Linked DNA regions of Homo sapiens: all the other regions are linked to region 3. Evidence: promoter capture Hi-C in 16 types of primary human blood cells and fetal thymus (Javierre and others, 2016). All regions are on one chromosome and are shown on one strand. The core of a region is centred on a gene start or on the middle of the fragment in contact, and the rest is flanking DNA. Distances in the headings are between cores, read along the strand shown. Region 1 overlaps MAP3K12 (mitogen-activated protein kinase kinase kinase 12). Region 2 overlaps PCBP2 (poly(rC) binding protein 2). Region 3 holds the start of ESPL1 (extra spindle pole bodies like 1, separase). Region 4 overlaps SPRYD3 (SPRY domain containing 3). Region 5 overlaps EIF4B (eukaryotic translation initiation factor 4B).

Region 1 (3,144 bases), core at 317-2,816, 230 kb before region 3:
GTGCCTGTAGTCCCAGCTACTCAGGAGGCTGAAGGGGGAGGATCACTTGAGCCCAGGAGGTTGAGGCTGCAGGCAGTGAGCCGTGATCATCCCACTGCACTCCAGCCTGGGCAACAAAGCGAGACCCTGTTTCAAAAACAATACGAGCTGCAGCCAAGGGGACAGGAGGCATGGCCACGATTGATCAGAGACCTTTATCCTCTCAGGGTTTCAAAGCTTGCAGAGGTGGAATTAGGACTCCAAAGTCTTGGGTCTCCTTTCCCTTTGAAGACTCCCCTTCCTACCCCCACTCACGAGAGAAAGGGAATCATTCTCCTTTTCCTGAGTAAAAAAATGAGGTCTCAGACAGTGGAGAGCACTCAGTGTGAGAGCCCAAGATTTAGGCAGATGACCTGGCCTCTGAACTGAGCCCCTAAGACCACCAAACAGCTTAGCATTGACATTCTGCTGTTATACAAGAAGGAGCTAGAGAGAATTCAGAGAGTTTACCTGCCACAGGCTTCCAAAATCTCAGGCCAGAGAACCTAGAAGGTGGGATAGATGGGGGGTGACTTCCTACCCCACTCTACCCTGTAGCCTCCTTATGGAGTCACTTTGGGGCCACCAGCAAAGCACTGAATTAGGGCCTGTTGGGTGTCCAAAGAGCCTCCTCCCCTGGCACATGTATGGCTTAGAGATCATTCTGTCCCCTCACCCAATGTGAGGCAGAAGCACCATCAACACTTGGTAGATATGGTTGACAGTGAGTGACAGAGAGACCCACCCTCCTGTCACATTGCTGCCCTTCCCCCATGCTCTGCATAATTGATAACGGAGAGACAGCTACCCTCCCCCAGGGTGACTGAACGTCTGGGCCAGGGGCTCCTAGCCATCCTAGACGCCCCTCCAAAGCTCTGGCGCCAAGGCCCAGCCAGGGGGCAGTGGGACACAGCTGGCAGGTCAGAAATAAAGGAAACAAAAAGGGGTATGTGTGTGTGTGTTGGGAGAGAGGAATCTCCACTTTACTATAGCTCCCAGGGGCAGCAGCTTTCCCTCACTCCAGGTCAATGTGGAAGAGCCGTCAACTAGCCTGAGATCTTTCCCTTGGTCCCATCTCCTACTTCTTCAGCTATCCCCACTACCGTAAAAGACAAACAGGTGAAATGGCTTCTCTCCTTCTCTCCCCAGCTGCTGGCCCTGGATACCAGAAGGGCCTCTGGGGAAGCCTGGTGAACTGGAGGGAGGCTCGGCTGGCTGCAAGTGTCTCTGAGCATGTCACCCTTTCTATGCCTAAACCACCTAGTCGTCAAACAACCAGATGACGGCTGAAAAATTCCTTTAAAAAGCCAGGTGCTGTGCCTACTCAAAGCTCGGCTTCTAGACAGAAAAGGAGATGGGTGTTCTCCGTGTTTCTCACTCCCCTTTCATCTCCATTTTCTCAGGGTCCTCTGCTTTTCCAAACAGCTTTTCAAGCCATCCTTCTCGGGGTTGACTCCGCTTGACGCTGCTCCGGTGTCTGTATATGTCTCAGCTCCTTCCTCCTTCCTAGCTGTACCTTTCGCCTTTTCTGTGCCCTGTCTCCCTTTCTCTCATTTCCTGCTTTCCTTCCCTGTGGTACTGCACCCCCAATGCCAACCCCACAAGTCCCCTCCTGCCAACACCAGACGCCTCAGCCGAAGATCTCTCTGCATGCGGGGGCAGGGGAAGGAAGGGAACACAGATGGGGCAGACCGCTGGGTGGGGGTCCGCACCTAAGATCCTCGCAGCCATCCCGGCAACCAGCCACCTGGGCCGGCCCAGGTCAGGGGCGGGGCCCAGGCACAGCCCCGCCCCCACGTCGCGCTCACGTGATCCGGGGCTAATCTTGTCCTGGTGACTTCACGCGCCGCCTCAGGCCCAGTCGTCATGGTTACGCCGCAGCGCCCAGCGCTTCCCCCAGCCGGCCGTGTCCCTTCCCTTTCCCCACCCGGACCACCCCCTTCCGCCGCCGCGGCCCCCGCCCCAGCCACGCGCCACGTGACGGCCGGGAAGGAGGTCGGGAAGGGGGAGGGGGCGCTGTGGCCGTAACCCCTTCCTCCCCACTTTCAGCGGTCCTGACTTGGGCTTCGTCCTTCCATTGCTGGTGACCAAGCTGTCCAGGGCACGGCCCCGGCTCCTCCCCGAGGGCTCCAATCCCGCCATCCCTCCCTCCTGGCCTGCCAGGCGAGAGCGTCCCAGAGTCTTGGGCCTTGTTTCTGGGTGGTCCAGAAGCGAAGCCCGGGGTTGCGGCGGAGTGGGAGGTGGTGGGGGCGGGGAGGGAGGTTGGGGGGCAGGCAAAATCCCTTGGGTCCTCCAGACGAAATTCTCCCATATGTTGGCACTTTGCTTGGTCTGTGTTTGTCTGTAATTTGCATTGCAACCTACACCTTACCTCTTGAAGCCACAAATAACGCGTGGGATATGTTGGGGATTTGGAAGCTGAACTTTAGTGTGATTTGTGCTTTCTGGGCCTCAGTTCTCTCAAGAATATAATGGGACCAGTAGTACCTCCTTCACCTGGCTCTTCTGAGGATTCAGGGAGCTAGTTTTGTGTGTGTGTTTGCGCGCGCGCGCGCGCGCAGAGAGAGTGTGCGGGGCTTAAGGCGATCCTCCGGGGTGAGTAGAGCAGTGGTTCCACCTTACCGAGCACCTTCTGCGTGCCAGGTGCTGTTGCAAGCCATGGTTCCCTTGTGATGCGAAGTCATCTCTCTAAAGGCTGTCCAGGCTCTCAAAGGAGCCAGACGCCCGACTACATTGTCCGTCCAGTATAATGGGAACCATGATAGAGGACGCATAGTGGGGCTGTGTCAGCCCAGAAGGCGCATTAACCTAGAGCGGATCAGGAAAGAAGGACGTCCAGGATAAAGTGACACCTGGATAGAGATGAGAAGCGCCTTCCAGGCTGGGGGTGAAGCTTGAGCTTCTTTTTCTTCTTCTTCTTTTTTTTTTTTTTTTTGAAACAGAGTCTTGCTCTGTCACCCAGGCTAGAGTGCAGTGGCACAATCTCGGCTCACTGCAACCTCCACCTCCTGGGCTCAAGCGATTCTCCCACCTTAGCCTCTCAAGTAGCTGGGACCACAGGCATGCGCCACCACGCCCAGCTAATTTTTTGTATTTGTAGCAGAGACAGGCTCTCCCCATGTTCCC
Region 2 (2,981 bases), core at 206-2,705, 200 kb before region 3:
TGGCCATCTTTACCCATCGCCCATGTAATCCCATATTTAATACACTGCAGCTCTCCCCAACACACACATTACTGTGTTGGCATAAATAAGACAAAAGGTAGAGCAATCTTACCTGACATTGATTAGATATTGAGCCAGGCTAATGCTGGCAGCAGATCCAGTGATGGTAACCTGCCTATCAGTAGATCCTTCCACTGGGTTCGCAATTTTGATCTGCGCCCCAGACATCTGACGGATCTCATTGATTTTGGCGCCTTGACGCCCGATTATGCAGCCAATCAACTTAAGGGAGAAAGAAAAACAAGGCACACCGAATTAGAGTTGCATGGCTAGGTCTAAGAATCCCACCCCCCCACCCCAAATCCTACGACTGTGGCCAGGCTGGAGTGCAGTGGCCTGATCTTGGCTCACTGTGCAACCTCAGCCTCCTGGATTTGAGCAATTCACCTGCCTCAGCAGGACTACAGGCGCATGCCACCATGCCCAGCCAATTTTTGTATTTTTAGTAGAGACGGGGTTTCACCATGTTGGCCAGGATGGTCTCAATCTCTTGACCTTGTGATCCACCCACCTTGGCCTCCCAAAGTGCTGGGATTACAGGTATAAGCCACCGAACCTGGCCCTTTAAAAAAAAAAAAAAAAACCGAGGGTCTCGCTATGTTGCTCAGGCTAGTCTCAAACTCCTTGGTTTAAGCCATTTTCGAATCTCAGCCTCTGTATCTCTGTGCTCCCTGTAACCTGGGATTACAGGTGTATACCGCCATGCCCAATTTCATCCTACACCCTTTACTCATACACTTTTGATCAAAAAACTCAACTCTTGACCCATTTTTCAGTCTGACCACCCATGGTGAGTGACAGCCAGTTCTGAGCCAACTCAGAACTGTCTTTTAGGTCCAAGAGACATAATACTCTTAGGTCCAAGTATTAGCTCTTCATTATTTCTGTCCTCAGAATATTACTTCCAAAGACAAAGCAGAGCCAAAACAAAAATAAATTTAGACAGCTAGAAATAGATAAAGGTAGAAATACATTCTGTTTCTGGCAGCAAATATGCTTAAAGTCATCCTGCCATGATTACCACCCTCCTATACCGACAAGAATTCTGGCCAATTCCTAAGGTGTTTTTGCCTTGGGAAAAGGTGGAAAAAAAAAAAAAAAAACTGGTTAACATTTGCACTAATACTGTAAAAAATATGACCCTGGACAGCACAGATCTGATGTTCATGAACCACTACACTATGGTGGGGGACCGTGGCTCATGCCTGTAGGCTGAGGCAGGCCAATCACTTGCGTTCAGGAGTTTCATGGCGAAACTCTTGTCTTTACAAAAAAAATACAAAAAAAGTTAGCCAGGGATAGTGGCATGCACCTGTGGTCCCAGCTACTCAGGAGGCTGAGATGGGAGGATCTCTTAAGCCTGGAAGTTCAAGGCTGCAGTGAGCCACGATCATGCCTCTCTGCTCCAGCCTGGGCAACAGAGGGAGACCCTTTGTCAAAAAAAAAAGCCACTACACTTTTTTTTTTTTTTTTTTTTTTTTGAGAGACGGAGTCTTGGTCTGTTGCCCAGGCTGGAGTGCAGTGGCACGATCTTGGCTCACTGCAACCTCCGCCTCCCAGGTTCAGGGGATTCTCCTGCCTCAGCCTTCTGAGTAATGGGATTACAGGTGCGGGCCAGCACACCTGGCTAATTTTTGTATTTTTAGTAGAGACAGGGTTTCACCACTATGGTCAGGCTGGTCTCCTGACCTCGTGACCCACTTGCCTCAGCCTCCCACAAGTGCTGGGATTATATGCATGAGCCACTGCACCTGGCTGAAAACCACAACATCTTCTAAAGATAAGGCTTTAGCTTCTACAAAAAAACAAAAGCAGGCTGGACGCAGTGGCTCACACCTGTAATCCCAACGCTTTGGGAGGCTGAAGGGGGGGGATCACGTAAGGTCAGGAGTTCAAGACCAGCCTGACCAACATGGAGAAACCCCATCTCTAATTAAAAAAAATACAAAAATCAGCCGGACATGGTGGCACATGCCTGTAGTCCCATCTACTCGGGAGGCTGGGGCAGGAAAATTGCTTGAACCCAGGAGACGGAGGTCACAGTGAGCCAAGCCTGGGAAACAGAGCAAGATGCCGTCTCAAAAAAAAAAAAAAAAAAAGCAGCAAATGTACAGGAATTTCTTTCCTTTTTTGAAATGGAGTTTCGCTCTTGTTGCCCAGGCTGGAGTGCGATGGCGCGATCTCGGCTCACCACAACCTCCGCCTCCCGGGTTTCAAGCAATTCTCCTACCTTAGCCTCCCAAATAGCTGGGATTACAGAGATGCAACACCATGCCAGGCTTTTTGCTTTTTTTGTATTTTTAGTAGAGATGGGTTCCTCCATGGTAGTCAGGCTGGTCTCGAACTTCCAAGCTCAGGTGATCCACCCGCCTCGGCCTCCCAAAGTGCTGGGATTACAGGAGTGAGCCACCGTGCCCAGCCAGGAATTTCTATTTTCAGCAAAAAGTTACTGCTGTCTCGTCATACCTCACACAATAATAGTCTATTTTCTCTTATCATATTTGTCATCACAATTCTGTATATTATAATCAACTTATTTTTGTGTCTAAAAATTCCCATTTTCCATTCCTGGGGTATGAAAAACAAAAACAAAAATAAAGATAAAATAATAAAATTCCCAGTTTCTTTCCCTAGGGCTTAAAAGTAGCAGGACATGTAGGCCAAGTGCGGTGACTCAGACCTGTAATCCCAGCACTTTGGGAGGCCAAGGTGAGTGGATCACCTGAGCTCGGGAGTTTGAGACCAGCCTGACCAACATGGAGAAACTCCATCTCTACTAAAAATACAAAATTAGCCAGGCATGGTGGCACATGCCTGTAATCCCAGCTACTCAGGAGGTTGAGGCAGGAGAATTGGTTGAACCCGGGAGGCGGAGGCTGCGGTGAGCCAAGATCGCACCACTGCACTACAGCCTGGGCTGT
Region 3 (3,364 bases), core at 797-3,296:
TAGAGATAAAGAGGGCTCCAAGCTGAAGACTGACCCGGAGTCCTGGAGAGCTGACAGAGCCCAGGGAGCACGAGGAAGGACATCCAGAAGGGCCACTGCCCTCTCAGGATAGACTAGGCTGTTTGCTGGCTCGCTAGGCACTGTCCAGAGAGCAGCTTAACAAGGAGGGAGCCAGGACCTCCAGATCTTGCCAAATACCCTAGGCTGGTAGTGAGTCCACAGACCACGTCCCCACCCTACCTCCAGGTCCTTAACTCACACCATCATCCCGCAGCTGCTGCAGAAGAGAGCAGTACCCTCCAAGAAAAGCAAAGAGGCTCAGAATGGCATCAAGTCTATAGCGCCTCTTGGTGCCTCGTTCCAGGCCTGAAAGGAAGAACTGGCAGCTCTCATACAATGCCCGAAGTGGGGGTGATGGTGCCTCCATACTCTTGCTCAGGACAGCTGATGCCTTGATCAGAAGCTTGGCCACTGCCTGAGGTCCTTCCTCCCCAACCTGCAGCAGCTTAACCCCCAGCTGACATAGCTGAAGGCTAGGGGCTAGATTGGTGTTCCTTAGGTAACTGTGAGCCTTCTCCACTGCGCTGATGGCTTTGTCATGGTGGCGGCTCCAGCAAAAGCGACGGCAGTGTTCCAAGGTGAGCTCCAAGAGGCAGAGGGCCCTCTGGGGAGAAAGAAGCCCAGAAGAGCTCCCTCTCTCACCCACCAAGGCTCTGATCACGTGCCTGGAGAGCAGGTCATCTAGGAAATCAGCATCTGCTTCATTTAGACCATGGCCACTGGCATCAAATAGCTGATGGGCAGCTACCGCTCGACAGGCTGTTGGAGAAGCAAAGTGAGGAACCTCACAAGGGGTACTTTCATCCTCCAAGAGTACTAGGAAGCTCAAGGCCTTCAGCCGAGCTGCAAATGCAGCTCGCCGTTCCAACAGGGCTTCTGCCCCCTTCCAAAGCAGAGAAAAGCTGCCCCGAGCCACGGCCTCATAGTCCTGGGGAGCAGCCTCGCGAGAGCACTGCACCAAGCAGGCATGGAGGGGCTGAGCAAGGCGGAGTGTGGCCTCTGGGCTTCCTTGTGCAGCAGCATTCCGCAGTAAGACAAAGAGAATTCGTTCCAGGTAGAGGGGAGGACGCTGTGGGGTAGACACTAAGTAGCCATCACAGGCCAGCTCTGCCAGCTCCAGCAGGCTCCCCAGATGCCTAGGGCAAGCTAGCTTAGCAGTCAGCTGCTGGTTGCAAGCCCTCAGGATGGCATCACAAGCTTGTCTCCTCTCAGCATCAGATCGGCTGCTGGGAAAACCAGCTGGAGGGTTGGACAGGAACTCCTAGGAGTAGAGAAAGATATGAATGGGGCTAGCAAAGGCAGGAAAGAGGTAGAGAAAGTAACTAGAAATAGGGTTACTCAGAGAGGGTCGCCTACTTATCCATCTCTTCAAAAGGCAAACACAAAACAGCTCAGTTTGGAAAGCCAGGTGTATCCCGAGCCAGGCAGCACCCCCACCTTCAAGGCGGGCAGCAACTCTTCAGCCTCCTTCTGGCTGCTTAGCAGAGTCCCAAAGTTGACTCTTTTGAAGCTCCTCATGACACCGGAGAGCTAGGGAAAAGGAGACCAATTAGAGAAGATTGTTAATGAAGCTAACTGGAGGAAGGGAAGAGGGCTGAAGGTCGTGGAAGGAGGCAAAGAATCACATCAGAAATTTCATCGGGGAGAAAACCCACGCCAGGACGCCGTGCTCCCGTTATAAAAGGACGATTCCGCTCTTCCTTCCTCCGGGCAGATCCCCGACCGCACTACCACACCACTCGCCGCGCTACCCCAGAGGCCTCGGCCCAGCCCTTCAGCGGCCCGGGGCAGTCCCAAGGCCTCCCGACACTCCCTCCAGGAGCCACCCACGCCTCTCCTCGCGTCAGCGCTGGGGATCCCCTTCACTTCAGCACGTACCCACGCTCACGAGTCCCTTCCGGCCTTACCGCCCCAGAGCTCGCCCTCTTTCCTAGGTACAGGACTTAACCGCCTGACCAGTACTCCGCGAGGATCCAAAATGTAACCTTCGTTTTCCGCGCCAGACCCTCCTTTCAAATATCCGCGGCTGCCAATCAGCGGGCGCGGCGCAACGCCGGGCGCGCGGCACGCTGGGAGTTGTAGTTTACCCGCCGCGCTGCGCGCTCCCGCGGCGCCCCGGAGGGTCTTGCTGCTCTGCGCGTTAGGGCCTCTTGGGGGTGCGGGTTTCCCCCTTTTTTCCAGTCAGAGCTCAGTTTCTCAGCTACCTGTCGCTTAGTCGCTATCGGTAATGCCACCCCTTTTCCTCCTTTATCTTCAGAGCTCAGGCAAGAGTTTAAGTTTCAAGAGAAGAGAAATAACAAAAAGAACTTAGGAACTCACGCGGTTTGGGTTACTAGAAAAAAAGGGCTTAGACTTCTACGAATTTTTTTTTTGATAGGGTCTTGCTCTGACACACAGGCTGGAGTGCAGTGGCGTGATCACAGCTCACTGCAGCTTCAAACTCCCGGGCTTAAGTGATCCTCCCACCTCAGCCTCCCAAAGTGCTGACTACGGGCGTGCACCGCCACGCCCAACTTCCTACGAAATTATTTTAAAGATGGTTTTCTAGGGGAACTACAATGAGTACCCGTAGCGACCTCCAGCTCTCTCTCTGCCTTCCAGCCTTACTCCTTCTATTGGTTGTATGAGAAAGACAAGATCTGGTGCTCTTCGATGGGGGAGAGAGGGTAGTGGGGTGGGGTGGGAGTTGTGAGTAGCAGGAAGAACTATGGAAATTCATTCCCTGGGATATTTCACAGTCTTTAATGGCTTATGTTTTTAAGTACTAACCACTTCCCCAAACACAGATTCAGCTGTCTCTTTCCTTCCTCCACCAAAGAATTCAGCTCAAAAGTGGTTATCAGCTTGTCGCTGATGAACTCTACTGGATAACTCATCCTTCTCCATCATCATAGAGCTCTTTTATGAGTTGAGAATCTAGCAGGGAAGATTATTTTTGTAAAAAGAAAGAAAAGAAGGCCGGGCGCGGTGGCTCACGCCTATAATCCCAGCACTTTAGGAGGCCGAGGTGGGTGGATCACTTGAGAACCAGCCTGACCAACATGGTGAAACCCCATCTCTACTAAAAATACAAAAATTAGCTGCTGTGGCATCGGGGGCCTGTAGTCCCAGCTACTTGGGAGGATCGCTTGAACCCGGGAAGCGGAGGTTGCAGTGAGCTGAGATCCCGCCACTGTACTGCAGTCTGGGTGACAGAGCAAGACTCTGTCTCAAAAAAGAAAACCAAAAAAAAGGCCGGGCGCGGTGGCTCACGCCTGTAATCCCAGCACTTTGAGAGACCGAGGCGGGCGGATCACGAGGTCAG
Region 4 (3,087 bases), core at 200-2,699, 190 kb after region 3:
TTTGACCCATATCCCAGACTTGACTCATGTCCCCTAACCCAAACCCACCATATAGGGACGTGAGTCCTATCTTTCTCCAAAGCTTTGGAGTAATTTTCTAAGTGAAATAGGCACCCACTCTCACCAATTGCCCCCTCTGAGTATCTTATCTTTTTTCCTGATTCCCATGTCCTTTTTCTTTTTGAGCCTCAGCGCCCTTTAATCTCTAAGTCCCCTTCCCCCACCCCCAGCAATTCATCCCATTTCCCAGCCCTGCTGACTGTGCCCTGCTTTCTTCTCTCCAGGTGTCTATTGTGGACAGTGGAGTCCGGGGCACCATTGCTGTGGGGCTGGTCCCTCAGTACTACAGCTTGGATCACCAGCCTGGCTGGTTGCCTGACTCTGTAGCCTACCATGCTGATGATGGCAAGTGAGTTGGCTCCTGTGCAACCCGGCCCTTTTCCTATGAATTTGGGAATCTTAGATCTGAAGAACTACCTTGGGCTGGCTTTTCCCATTGGGTGTTTCATAGACTTTTCTGGTCAGGACAGGGAAGTGGCCTGGCAGCACCCTTGAAGGCTTACAGACTAGAGGAGGGTGATGCTCACGCCAGGACGTAAGTGGGTACCATCACAGAATGACCAGGAGCAGCAAGATGAGGATGAGGCCTCTGCTGTCAGTGCTGGGGAGAAGTTGGGAGGCCAGGCTCGGGTCCTGTGTCTGTACTACTCTGTCTGTAGGCTGTACAATGGCCGAGCCAAGGGCCGCCAGTTTGGGTCAAAGTGCAACTCCGGGGACCGGATTGGCTGTGGCATTGAGCCTGTGTCCTTTGATGTGCAGACCGCCCAGATCTTCTTCACCAAAAATGGGAAGCGGGTGAGTGGGAAATAGTGGTGGGATTTACGTGGCTGAAATCTGCCCAAGGATTTGTGGGGAGTGATTAGGAAGAGTCTGCTGGCTGGGGCTTGCCCAGGGACCCTTGCACTGAGTTCCCATCTCCTCCAGTCCAGCCTCAGATTCTCCTGAAGTCTCTTGCGTGTAGGAGAAGATACTTCCCATGGCCAGAGGAAGCTGGGACATTGCCCAGATGACAGGCAGAGAGAGGCAAGTTAGTGGAGCAGAGGATGAGCAGGAATTGTGGGGAACAGAATTGGGTGATTTGGGGGAAGGTTTTGAGCAGATAAAAGAGAGGGGAAGATTATGGCCTGGCCATGTAAGCTGGAGGTCCTCTTTGGGTTTTGACTTGAGCACTTTTGGGGATATGTCCTTTCTGTGTCCTGTTTTCCTTGTTTCACGTCTCTTTCACTATCCTGTTCGTAGAGAGACTAGGCGTGGTGAGGAGATGGGACAGGAGCCAATAGTAGAGAGAGACACACAGCTCTCTCCCTTCTCTCCAACTCCATCTCCCACATTGGGAAATTGGTTTCTCAGGCCTTGGCCAAGGGGTCCTGCTGCCTTAGCATCTGCGCCTCGGCACTCTCCTGTCCAGCACACGTACTGAAAGTATTTGGCAGCAAGTCAGGAGACTTGTGTTTGTCTTCTAGCTCTGTACATACCTTGCTTAGCCAGGAGTACTTAGCACATTTGGAAACTTTTCTGCACCTCTGGGTTGCTTTTTTTTTTTTAATCTGTCAGTGTGTGTGATAATTATTGGTTGCATCATCTTTTTTTTTTTTTTTTTGAAATGGAGTCTCGCTCTGTCCCCCAGGCTGGAGTGCAGTGGCACCATCTCGGCTCACTGCAAGCTCCGCCTCCCGGGTTCACGCCATTCTCCTGCCTCAGCCTCCCGAGTAGCTGGGACTACAGGCGCCCGCCACCACGCCCGGCTAATTTTTTGTATTTTTAGTAGAGACGGGGTTTCACCGTGTTAGCCAGGATGGTTTCAATCTCCTGACCTTGTGATCCGCCCACCTCGGCCTCCCAAAGTGCTGGGATTACAGGCGTGAGCCACCACGCCCGGCTGGTTGCATCATCTTAAAAGTACCCTTGTGAGAATTAGGTGAGCTATGGAAAAGCAGGCCGGGTGGCAGCTCCGTCTTTCCCCCCACTGCAGGTGGGCTCTACCATCATGCCCATGTCCCCAGATGGACTGTTCCCAGCAGTGGGCATGCACTCCCTGGGTGAGGAGGTGCGGCTGCACCTCAACGCTGAGCTGGGCCGTGAGGACGACAGCGTCATGATGGTGGACAGTTACGAGGATGAATGGGGCCGGCTACATGATGTCAGAGTCTGTGGGACTGTAAGTAGCGGGTGGGAGGGTGGGAGGGGCTGGGTCGGAGGAGGCTGGGCAGAACACCTGTGGGCACATGGTCATGTCTGAATTGCTGGGAATGGGGAGTCGGGACAGTGTCCGTGTGGGGTTTGGCAAGATAGCCTAGGCTCTTGACATGAGTCCTTGAGTCCAGATCTGTGTTTTCTTTAGCACATGTTCTCTTTTCTTCACTTCCTCCTCTTCAGGGAACTCAGGTTCGCAGTTTGACCCTGGGAACAAGTAGTTCTGCTTTGCCTTTTTTGGTTCCTTCAGCTTCTGGTGTCTTCTACAGCCCTGCACAACTGCCTTTGAGGGGCTGGGGGTTGATCTGGAGGCAAAATGCCTGGCCCAGGCTTTTCATTCAAAGTGTTGTGGGGCAGGTGTGGTCAGAAGTCCACACATGTGGTGGAAGGTTCTTAGCCATCTTTTTTGAGGAAGTGTCAATGTCAGTTTCTATTGTCTTATCCCTGCATTTGATAGAGGATTAGAATGGAGGCAGATAAAGATTCAGTGAGCATCCTTACACCTCCAAACTTGCTTCATTTATCTTTTCCTCATACCTGCTTTAGTATGGATTTTAAGCTTCGTTGGGAAGCGTGTGGAGCTTGAGAAAGGGGAATTCTTCCTCCCCGGATTTTAAGTTTTGTTGGAAAATTCATGAACCTTGAGAAAGGAAAATTCTTCCTGTCTGCCTCAATACACTGTGCTGCATTGGGAGTGAATGGACGCCAAGTCCGGGATCTGGCCCTGACCTCTAGTGGGCTGCTCAGCCCTCCCACTTCGAATTGTCCCTCTCCTACCCCCTTGCTCCTGGCCTGGCCTTTTTCTCCACCCTCTGGCCTTTCCACCCCAACCCA
Region 5 (3,220 bases), core at 645-3,144, 250 kb after region 3:
GGGCAAAACTGATTGAAAACTGTTACTGTAGATTCAGGCAGGCCCACCACTACCCCTATTCAAATTTTCTGGGAAAGGATGGCTTGGTGTCATCCTGGGACCATTACCAAACAGAAATCTCTACCAGTTTCCTTACCTTTATCCTGTGCTTGATCAGCAACGTCCACTCGAATTCTCCTGTTACCTAGAGACTGAGAGCATAGGACCATATTAACCAACCTTTTGCCCCATTATGCACAAATCCCTTGAGTGACCTTGAACGTCTGGGCATAGCAGAAGCACTAGGGGAAGGAAGATAAAGGAAAACACTGTAATCTAGCTAACACTCCAATTTGTGGGCTAAAGAGTCCTTTAAAAGACTTAAAAGTTAAACAAATTTAAGCTGGCCTTGAATATTAGGTCAATTATACTATTTTTACAAAGCTTAATTTCACAGAATAGAATTAACTTTTTAACTATCCAAGGTAATTTGTCAAGTGTAGTAAATTAAAAATAATTCTCACATAACTAGCTGAATAAAAGGCATATTTGGTGCCACAACAATTATTTATCAAAATTTATAGAAGCCAGGTGCAGTGGCATGTACCTACAGTCTCAGCTATTTGGGAGGCTGAGGCTGGAGGATCACTTAAGCCCAGGAGTTCAAATCCAGCCTGGGCAATATAGCGAGACACTGTCTCTTAAAAACAAAAACACCCAACACATTTATAGAGCCTCTACTACTACTATGTACCAGCAAAATTGCATAAAGCATGCTTTGTCTACAATCTTAGGTTCTTTCACTCAGTATTACCTTCAGATAAATCAGTTCTTCCAGAGATACCCTCTGACTTCCCTTTCCCACATCATTATTTATATACTTTGAACCCAATTAATTCTATTGCTGATTTTTCCTCATTTCATAGTAGAATCTACAGTTGAAGGATAACAATGATTTTTAGTTAAAAATACCCAAAACTATATTAAACACCACTATAATGAAATCTCTAGTAACAAAGTAACTCTTAACTATGGACCACAACAATATATTAATAGTTAATCTAGTAAACATCAAATAGTTAACAATTGCATGGTATTCTTTTTCTTATCCAGACTGAGTAAAGTTAGAGACCAGTAATGTTAATAAAAATCTAAAAATAATCCAGTAAGAGTAACTCTGGAACAAGATTAGACCTTCATATGCATTTAACTAAGTACATTAATTTTTATCTCTATTTCACACTGACTACAGGTTATCATGATGGTAATCAATTATGAGGCAGCAAAACTATTTCTAAGAGGTGTTGATTTCAATCATGTCATATGGCAAAATAGGACTACAGAAATATGGCACAAATGGCACTAGAAATTGCCTTATCAATAAACAATAAGGTGTTTTTGGAGTTAAAGGAGGAAAAAAGTCTTTTTTCTTCTGAGATATAAGCCCCTCAAGTCCTGGGACAGGAAAACCTTTGTGGGCAGTGTTGACAAGCAGAAGGACTAGATATTTATTGTCACTCTCCTGTAAAATATTCCTTTGTAGGAAATGTTTCCAAATCCTCTTAAATGAACAAATATACCATTACAACACTTCCCTGAAAATGAGATATGCCTTTAATACTAAACAAACTTGATTTTTCTATTTGCCTTTATCAGGCCAGATTACTTTGAAAAAGCAATGCCATAAGAGTTGAGGCAACACTGTGGGTAAATCAGTGTAAGACTTAATTAGAGACCTGGTGTGTGGTGGGTTTCTTCCACAACTTTCCACCTAAGTACCTATCTAAATTATTGGGGCCTACTGAATTTGCTGAAGTGTGACTTGCTAGATGTTCGATGTTAAGTGATACACTGTTAAATAATGCAGGCCTTTATTTGTAGATATGGGAATCTTTGAAGTGAGCCTCTCAACCTAAAAAATACCAGTTTGATCAATAAACATGAGATTTGTGAACTTACACCCCTCATATCCCCACTCTTATTTTCTTTACCTCTTCATTGAGACTCAGGGCACTGAGCAGGGAATCCAGGTCCTCAAATTCAGCATAACCAAAACCTTTCAACCTCTCTGGATTGCTGGGTTCACGTGGTAAACGCACTGCACTGATCTGAAGGAATAAGAATCAACAACAAAGTTTCCCAGCATTCTTCTTCATTTGTCATTTTTTGAGAGGACTACAAAAGCATTACTGTATGTGCATGAATTTTTCTGAATACACAAGAACATGGTTGTCTCAGGAGGAAAACTGATGCAGAGGGATAGTAGAAACTTTACTAAATGCCCTATTATACCTTCTGAATTTTGAACTGTATGAATTTAACTCTAAAAAAAAAAAAAAAAAGATTAATTCAGGCCAGGTGCAGTGGCTCATGCCTGTAGTCCCAGCACTTTGGGAGGCCGAAGCAGGTGGATCCTCTGAGGTCAGGAGTTCAAGACCAGCCTGACCAACATAGTGCAACCCTATCTCTACTAAATACAAAAAATTAGCTGGGCATGTAATCCACTGTACTCCAGCCTGGATGACAGAATGAGACTCTGTCTCAAAAAAAAAAAAAAAAAAAAAAAAGAAAAAAAAAAAATATATATATATATAATTTTGATTTTATTTTTTTTCTTTGAGATGGTGTTTCACTCTTGTTGCCCAGGCTGGAGTGCAATGGCGCAATCTCGGCTCACCACAACCTCCGTCTTCCAGGTTCAAGCAATTCTCCTACCTCAGCCTCCCAAGTAGCTGGGATTACAGACGTGTACCACCACGCCCAGCTAATTTTTGTATTCTTAGTAGAGACAGGGTCTCACCACGTTAGCCAGGCTGGACTCGAATTCCTGACCTCAAATGATCCACCCGCCTCAGACTCCCAGAGTGCTGGGATTACAGGCGTGAGCCACCATTCCCGGCCTTAAATTATATTTCTAGTTGTTTTTTCAACAGCAACTGCCCATTCCACAATTAGTCTTTTTTAGACATTATCCTCAATATCTAGTTAATTATTACAACTTTTACACTTACATTTAATCCTCGAAAGAATTCCTTAATTGACTCTTCTGTAACATCATAGGGTAGGTTTCCTAGAAAAGCAGTGTAGGGTGGCGATTTGGGAAGACGGCTCCGGTCGATATTGGGTTCCCGAGCAGCCCGTGGAGCAGTGGGAAGGATGGAACGGTCAATTGGAGGCGCCCTATACACATCGTCATCGTTACTGTGCCAAGTGGTCGAAACTAGGATAGAGGAATGAATGT

The links. The method cuts DNA at HindIII sites, captures the fragments that hold promoters and counts their contacts. A CHiCAGO score of 5 or more calls a contact.
Region 1: a contact is called between a fragment that was not itself captured here and the fragment with the promoter of ESPL1 in region 3, in 2 of 17 cell types (naive B cells and erythroblasts). The highest score is 5.7, in naive B cells.
Region 2: a fragment that was not itself captured here is called in contact with the fragment with the promoter of ESPL1 in region 3 in 1 of 17 cell types (erythroblasts); the score reaches 6.8 in erythroblasts.
Region 4: a fragment that was not itself captured here is called in contact with the fragment with the promoter of ESPL1 in region 3 in 2 of 17 cell types (total CD8 T cells and endothelial precursors); the score reaches 5.7 in total CD8 T cells.
Region 5: a contact is called between a fragment that was not itself captured here and the fragment with the promoter of ESPL1 in region 3, in 1 of 17 cell types (erythroblasts). The highest score is 6.3, in erythroblasts.

What each region holds. Positions count from the first base shown.
Region 1 is chr12:53,491,884-53,495,027 of GRCh38, reverse strand. All of the region lies in intron 1 of MAP3K12 (mitogen-activated protein kinase kinase kinase 12), which reads left to right. Among named protein-coding and RNA genes, the nearest start is that of MAP3K12, 6.0 kb to the left of the region's middle. RefSeq lists a silencer at 1,901-2,150. The HindIII fragment of the contact is 2,695 bases long and covers 219-2,913 here.
Region 2 is chr12:53,468,939-53,471,919 of GRCh38, reverse strand. PCBP2 (poly(rC) binding protein 2) reads right to left here. Exons shown (of 15, transcript NM_031989.5): 14 at 113-282. Among named protein-coding and RNA genes, the nearest start is that of PCBP2-OT1, 6.0 kb to the right of the region's middle. The HindIII fragment of the contact is 4,794 bases long and covers 1-2,981 here.
Region 3 is chr12:53,266,981-53,270,344 of GRCh38, reverse strand. It overlaps ESPL1 (extra spindle pole bodies like 1, separase), which reads right to left and starts at 2,046. Exons shown (of 31, transcript NM_012291.5): 1 at 1,968-2,046; 2 at 1,498-1,590; 3 at 260-1,321. The coding sequence starts at 1,578. RefSeq lists enhancers at 1,600-1,679, 1,740-2,109. The HindIII fragment of the contact is 5,649 bases long and covers 1,260-3,364 here.
Region 4 is chr12:53,072,417-53,075,503 of GRCh38, reverse strand. SPRYD3 (SPRY domain containing 3) reads left to right here. Exons shown (of 11, transcript NM_032840.3): 4 at 285-409; 5 at 720-855; 6 at 2,033-2,218. Among named protein-coding and RNA genes, the nearest start is that of SPRYD3, 5.4 kb to the left of the region's middle. RefSeq lists enhancers at 2,621-3,087, 2,945-3,087. The HindIII fragment of the contact is 2,730 bases long and covers 85-2,814 here.
Region 5 is chr12:53,018,777-53,021,996 of GRCh38, reverse strand. EIF4B (eukaryotic translation initiation factor 4B) reads right to left here. Exons shown (of 15, transcript NM_001417.7): 3 at 2,991-3,199; 4 at 1,971-2,087; 5 at 137-191. Among named protein-coding and RNA genes, the nearest start is that of EIF4B, 14 kb to the right of the region's middle. The HindIII fragment of the contact is 2,938 bases long and covers 426-3,220 here.